2 separate regions of the Homo sapiens genome follow, and region 2 is linked to region 1. The links are contacts of gene promoters, found by promoter capture Hi-C in blood cells and fetal thymus (Javierre and others, 2016). All regions are on one chromosome and are shown on one strand. Each heading gives the region's core, a stretch centred on a gene start or on the middle of the fragment in contact. The rest is flanking DNA. Distances are from core to core; before and after follow the strand shown.

Region 1 (3,687 bases), core at 60-2,559:
GCGGCAGGGCCTCGAAGCTGAAGCCCTCGCGGGTGTAGACGTGCAGGATCCGTGCGGACCCATCCCCGTACACGCGCCCCTTTTCTTCCTCCGCCCAGGGTCCGCGCAGCAGTGGCTTTAGGGTGTAGCGCGCGTGCTTGACCGCGAAGAAGCCGTCGAGACCCCCACAGAGGTCAAAGACAGCCAGAGAGCGGGGACTACCGTCCACTGTGCCCCGATAGAAGCAGTGGCTCCGGTGGCGCCAGGGCGCACTCGTCCCGCCTCCTGCGGGCACGAAGCCAGCAATGCCCACCGAACCATCTCGCTCCAGGTCCAAGAGGAACCTCCGGCCGCCCGCGTAGACGAGGTAGCCCACCTTGCCGCCGCCGGAGTAGAGTTGGTCGATGTTCTGCACCAGCCCCTTGCTCCTGCGCCGCTGCGCCAGGGGGTGCGGGTGGCCGGGAGGCTCGGCTCGCTCCTGCACCTCCTCCCCCTGCCGCCGGCGGGGCTGGGCGGCTGCTGCAGCAGTCGGAGGCTGCCCGGCTTTATCCTGGGCAGGTGTCGCGGCGGGGCCGACCGCGGCCAGGGGCAGGCGGAACGCGCACAGCAGCAGGGACGCCCACCCGAGCAGCATAGTGCGCTGCCCGCGGGGAGGGGCTGCGCGACTGGGACTTTATGGGTATTTGTTATTTGCTATGAAGTTAACGGGGCGGGGGATGGGGACACACACACACTTGCTTGCAGGATTGAGTCAAGTGTCGGAGGGAGGGGGGCCCGGCAGCAGCGCCAGCCTGTCCGGGCTGCGGTGCCAGCGTGCGAACTTTTCTTTGTTGCTTGGGAAAATGTTTGGATTCGTGCTCCAGAAAGAGGTGGGGTGGGGGGGGGGGGAAAGAAAAGATTAAAAAAAAAAAGTCGGATAGTGGAGATTCAGCAAATACGGGAAAAGGAAAAAAACAAAAACCAAAAAACCACCAAATGCAGGCACGATCGCTGTTTCAAGAAAAGTAAGGAAAGGTACCGCGCACCGGGCTGGCAACTGGTGCGCGCAGCCTCCCGCCCCCGCGCTGCGCTGGACAAGCCGGCTGTGGAGGTTCCAAGCTCCGGGGCCCACTTCCTTTCTTATTTTGTGGGTTTCCTTGGCTCTGCTGGGACCAGGAGGAAGGGAAGAAAGAGAGGGGAAAAAGCCGTAAAAATTAAAACAAAAATGCAGGGGGGCAGCCTGAGGCGAGCTGGTGAAGCGGCGTGTCTGTGTCCCTTCGGCTGCGGTCTCCTCCTGCCCGCCGTCATCCCCAGTCGGCAGCTGCGAGCGCCGAGAGCAGCGCGAGCGCTGTGAAGATGCGAGGAGGTGGAACAATGAATTTATAGCGGCATGCCATCCTGCAATGGCAATTTCAACAGTTCGTCACTGCACGCTGCCTCTTAAAGGGAGAGCTTCCCCCACCACTCCCACCCTTCCCAGTCCGCGCCTAATCAGATGGGGGAGGGCAAAAGAGGAGGGTGATCGAGGAAAGGGAGACGAAGTAGGAGGAAGGGACTGGGACCCGGCGAGGTGGTAGGAGGGGAGAGGGGAAAATAAAAAGTAATGGGGCAAGAAAAACAGATTTCCTTGGCCACTTTTAAAGCCACAGCGGCTCCGGGTCTGTCTGATATTTCACAACCAATTGGGGTTGGCTAACCTTGGCTTACCTCATCTCCTGAACGGGTGTTTTGGTTAAAGTTATTGAGACGTTTCAAGTCTCTCCCTGCCTCCTTCTTGCCTGCTTTTCTCGCCCTCGGTGGGAAGTTCCTGCCGCAAGTTTTTCCCCTTTGCACACCCGTGCGCTCTGGCCTCGCAGACCGTGCAACTCCATCCACCAGCCAGAGCTTTTCAGCTTCCCGTGCGTCCCCTAACCACCGCGTTCCCTTCGCTTCCTCCCCTCCGTCCCGGCACCCGGTTTCCTCCCTCCCCATTCTCCAGCCTCTTGATGCTTTGACGCTCGCCGGATTCGGGCTCCGGGTGACTAACTTCTCCCGGCCACCAGCAGAGCGGCTGGACAGCCAGAGAGCCCAGGGCGCTTCCTGGCGCGCTGCGGTACCCCGGGGCGAGAACGCCCGCCGCTTGGGAACTCCGCAGCTTTGTGTGCGAACGGCGGGCTCCCAGCTTTCTCCAGCACGCCTTTCGTCAGGGTCCACAATCTGTCCCTTACTCCCAGCCCACTGGAACTTCCTTTGCTCTAAAAAGGCAGAGCGAGAAAGAGTTAACTCTTAGAGGGAATTCCGCTCATTTTTTTTCCCTGAAAGATTTTAAAATTTTGCGCTCATACTTTTATTTTTTGCTTAAATGATACTTTAATAATAAATTCCTATATCTGTTTTTGTCTCTTCTAAAGCAACCACTTATCGCCATAGGCCTTGACCTACCTTCATTCTCAGAAATTCCTTTTAGAAGAAAAAGAATACTTTTGGCGGAAGGAAGATTGGTGCTTATTAGTACGCGGGTGACATTATCACTGCTACTCGTTTCCTCTGACCTCTTTGTTTCCTCTAATTATCATTCTAAGAAGGGAGAAGGAAAACCCGACGACTTATGGTTAGAAGGTCTACCTTCTACTGTAGGGGTAAGAGCTCCCTCCATGCCCAAATTATTCTTCAGGCTAATTAACTAATGCACCAGTGAAAAATGAATGTGGTGTAATTTGTACATTTCCATCTTTTTCTACGTTTAACTTTGGCTACGCTGGGGATAGCAGGGCGGGTGCCTTAATGGGGCCCCAAGCTGATCGCTTTCTCTGGGAGGGAACCATGAGGGTCCAGAGCTTGATGGAGGTTCTTAGAGTGGCAATAATCCTCTGGAAGGAATTTCAGAATTGCCCGGCAACAATACCCATTGCCGTGTGCCTGGGAACACCCTCTGGAGTCTTGTGAGGGGCAGATGTATCATCTTGTTTTAACTTATAAATAAAGAAATCACTGGGGCCTTAGGGACACCCAACAGCCCCTGATAGATTCTGAAATACATCAGGACCAGGGAGGAAGTTACTATTGCTGAAGGCCATTGCTTTATAATTCCACAATGCCTCAGCCTCTCAGTGGCCAGTTGACCCAGGCCAATGCTAACAGCTGGATGGGTCAGAATAGGAGGTTCCAGCCATTTTCTCTATCCCACCAAGGCCTTTGAGCCTTGCATTAGCCGTTCTCTTTTGTGGTCCTTGCTTTGCACCTACAAATAGCAAACTTTTATCTTTTTAACCAGTTACAGTGAAAAGGAGTCCAATATTTGGCACTAAACACCATTTCTAATACAACCTTGATTCAATAAATTTAACAATTTTGTCATTGTTCATGCCAAAGAATCATTTTAATAGGCATTTTAGGTGACAGTGGTTAAAATTTGTTAATTACAATTATTTTCATTCACAGATAGATTTTGTTATTTAGGATTTCAGGAAATTCCAACAGATTCTCTTTTCTTTGATGGTCTTGAACTCATAACCTCCAGGGATTCTCCCACCTGATGAGACACAGTGACGGCTTGAATTTTCTTCTTAATGAAGCTTTTCTCCTCTTTCACAAACACCGTGCTGAATCCTGAATCTGAATATTATGCCTTTAAGTTTAATTATATAGTGACATTTGTACTCAGTTTATTCAAATATTTAAAAATACATGGGGAGAACAGGATAGACACAGATAAAGTTCCAAACATGAATATCAAGCACAGAATATTTA
Region 2 (3,384 bases), core at 503-3,002, 730 kb after region 1:
AATGCATGGAATTTCCTTCCAGTGTAGGGAAAAATTTGAAAAAATGAGAGGGACCGTTGTAATTTTCACTATAACTGGGTGGTAGTATGTGGGTGTTAATTAATTATTTGTTTTTACACCTAGTGAGTCACCTCTTATTAAGGAATAAAGAGTTCATAAAACTTTCTCATCAGTGCTAATTTGTTACCAATAAATAACTTAATGAAGTGGATAAATATTATTTAAATTTTGTTATATCCCACCTACAAAGGTAGTAAGACTAAAAACGTGATGCTTCTCCTTTATTTCTAGCCATTGTAATTTTTTCAAAATTTTTCAACAAATAATTATGTTTTAATTTCCTATTGCTTTTAAAAATCAATCCAAAAAGATTAGACTGGCTCAATTATATGAATACCACCTTCATTCCAGCAACTTGTAGGGTTAGCAATAAGACTCACTACAGGTGTAATCTATGACCTAGTAATTTAATATACATTTTGGACAATCACGCAGAGGTGTCACTTACCTTTACGAGCACATTAATTGGGCATATAGAAAAAGCTGTAAAATAAACAGCTTTTCATTGTTTTTACTTGCCAGTTTTTTTTCAGAATTTTCCAGTATATAATTTCTGATTGAGTAATTACATTTTTCTTTCATGTCCATGTCACCAGGGGCTCCAGTGAATCCATGCTGGAGCTTCAGTTTGCTCTCCTGGGCGTTGTCTTTAGGCATAAAGTAACCTGAGTAGATTACCGAGGCAGAAAATGGTCCTGATGTTGGCTTTCTCTCTGCCTCTTGTCTGTACAAATAATTTCTCTTCTGTCTAAGCAGTTTAGCACACATGTAGCTCTCTATTCTATTGCTCCACTAAAGTTGCAGCACTTTGCATGTGAGTGTGTATGATGATGCTGGGGAAAATGAGGAGAGGCATGCTATTCTGAAATAACGTTTCAATAGAAATAAGGTATCCTAATGAGAAAGGAAGGATTCATAAATCCTTCATGACTTTAAAAGCTTATTGCTTTTAAAAATCAATCCAAAAGGATTAGACTGGCTCAATTACATGAATACCACCCTCATTCCAGAAACTTGTAAATGTAGCAGTAAGACCTACTGCAGAAGTAATGCTGATAAAGAAAGTATCCTAATGGGAAAGGAAGGATTCATATGGCTACCTTGTGAACAGGTGCCTACTTTGATTTCCTTCAAAGTGCAAAAATCAGGAACTCACCGTTTAGAAGTCTGGCTTCAAACTATTCCCCTTTTAGATAAGTAAAAGTCACAAAATCATAAAAATATGACAATAGACCACAGTTATGTAATTTTCATATACATATTCATCCCTCAAAGAGACCGTAATTAACCTTTTAGCTCTTCTTTCTCTGACCATAGAGAGATAACAATGTTTTATTTTATCATTGTCTACCAGCAGTTTAATATTTCCATTGTCCCATAGGTCTGTTACCATCCAACCATCCCCATCACTTGTTCCTTTATACCGCTACAGCTGAGACCGCTGCTAGCCTTTCTCGCCTGGAGCAATAACTAACATTTGGTGGCCTTCCAATGCTCTTCCCTGGCCCACTATTTGTCAGCCAGTTTTCCTTACTAGGAGAACTGGGCAGACCTTATTGGAGATAGTGAGAACAGCAGAGAGAAAACCTTTCGAATAAAATTAGACAATTGATTCTGCTTCTTTAAGTCTTTTGGAGTACTTTGCTTTTTTCTTTCTTCTACAGATGCCTAAGGGAGAAAAAAAAAGGGAAAGCCCGAAAGAAATCTCTGGTTAACTGGAGAATCCAGGAAATATGTGTCATTTCGAAACTCAATTTCACATCAGACCAAGGGTTGGTAGTGACACATCCTGCTAATAAAACCATCCAGACAAGTCCTCACAAGCTAGTAGTGTGTTTTTTGATTTCTGCGGTGACCTCACTTAGAGGAGATGCCGTTGGTTTGGTGGATATTACTGAAAATGAACAGGGGACACTTATGTACCCGAAGAAGTGAAAACAAAAACATTCTGATGAAACTGTTTTGAATTTTTTGTGCCTAAATTTTCAACTAATTTTTTTCTACCATGATCAACTTGAGGAATCCTGTTCCTTTGATATCAGTTAGTGTTACGAAGGCATCGAATTCACTGGAGTACAGGAAAGGGTTATTGTCATTGTTTGTAGGTGTTGGGGGATGGGTATGCTGCTGGGGGACATGAGAGTTCAGAGATATTGCAAAAAACAGAAATTATATTTAATAACACAAAAGGTATTAGTCTCTAAAATAAAAATAAAGACATAGACTATACTTTTATAATTATATTAATTCATATTTTATAAACTAACTTGGTAGTTCTATTTTTTAACTGAGTTAATGACATTTTAAAACACTTTTTTGTGAAAAAAATAATTTTGTTTGAATTATCAGCAGTTTCTAGATGTGAGGATTTGATTTTAATTTACTTATCAATATTTATGAAGTTAGAAATATTGAAAGAAAAGTGTGAAAATAATTAGACTAACAAAAGCTTAAACATCAAACAAAAGTTAAAAAATGAAGTTATTTCTGACAACTACGTGATTAACATACAACTGCTGAATTATGTAAATTATATTGCAAATATTTTAATTTATTTAATAATTCTCATGACATGCTGATTGCCTACATATTTGTGTTCATATAACAACCACATTTATTCACTACTTTTTAAAAGCATATTATATAATGTTTTTATAATTTTAATAGAAGGAGTGTTAAAATAACACTTCAATCACATCTTCCTCTTATACAGATAAAATGGCACTTTTTTAAATAAAAATGCGTCATTAAATCATTTTTTCCACCCAAAGAACACAAATAGCAAATATCTCAATTATAAAGAAAAAAAGTCTTCTGAGATCTTTCCCGATTTAGAAGTCTACTATTCTGAATTGGCTAAAATAAAAGCAATGACTTTACATAGTTGAACCCACTCCCCCCCTTAAAACTGAAATGTGTTAAGAGAGTGGTGAATAAAAATAACTGAGCTGACAGATTACATCATCTAATTTACACCCACACAACCACTAGCTCCTTTATTTCAAATAAAGCTCCTTTGAGTCTTGATGGTAGAGTCACATAATCTCAGGTCTGCACGGCATTCCCATTTACGGTGTTTCTCCACCAGGGAAAATTGGTGAAACTCAAAGTTCCCAGGATGATGCTGGGAAGAACTTAGAGATAAAACATGCACTGCCTAAGAGGAGTGGAATGTGAATGGAGATGAGGCTGTAGACCTAGGCAGGGATCCGACCTAAGGACCCCGGTGTCAGGCAAAGATTCTATCCTGCAGAAACTGAGAATCATCAGAGAATTTTACCCAGAAGAGAAACACAATAACATGTGCCCTTTATAAACCTCATT

What was found. Contacts are between HindIII fragments. The CHiCAGO score rates a contact against its expected background, and 5 or more counts as called.
Region 2: a fragment that was not itself captured here is called in contact with the fragment with the promoter of ADAMTS5 in region 1 in 1 of 17 cell types (endothelial precursors); the score reaches 5.8 in endothelial precursors.

The regions. Positions count from the first base shown.
Region 1 is chr21:26,965,779-26,969,465 of GRCh38, forward strand. ADAMTS5 (ADAM metallopeptidase with thrombospondin type 1 motif 5) reads right to left here and starts at 1,310. Exons shown (of 8, transcript NM_007038.5): 1 at 1-1,310. The coding sequence starts at 613. LOC124905050 reads right to left here. Exons shown (of 3, transcript XM_047441063.1): 2 at 1,666-2,192; 3 at 878-1,306. The coding sequence ends at 878. The HindIII fragment of the contact is 6,499 bases long and covers 1-3,510 here.
Region 2 is chr21:27,691,738-27,695,121 of GRCh38, forward strand. No RefSeq gene overlaps it. Among named protein-coding and RNA genes, the nearest start is that of LINC00113, 29 kb to the right of the region's middle. The HindIII fragment of the contact is 1,510 bases long and covers 998-2,507 here.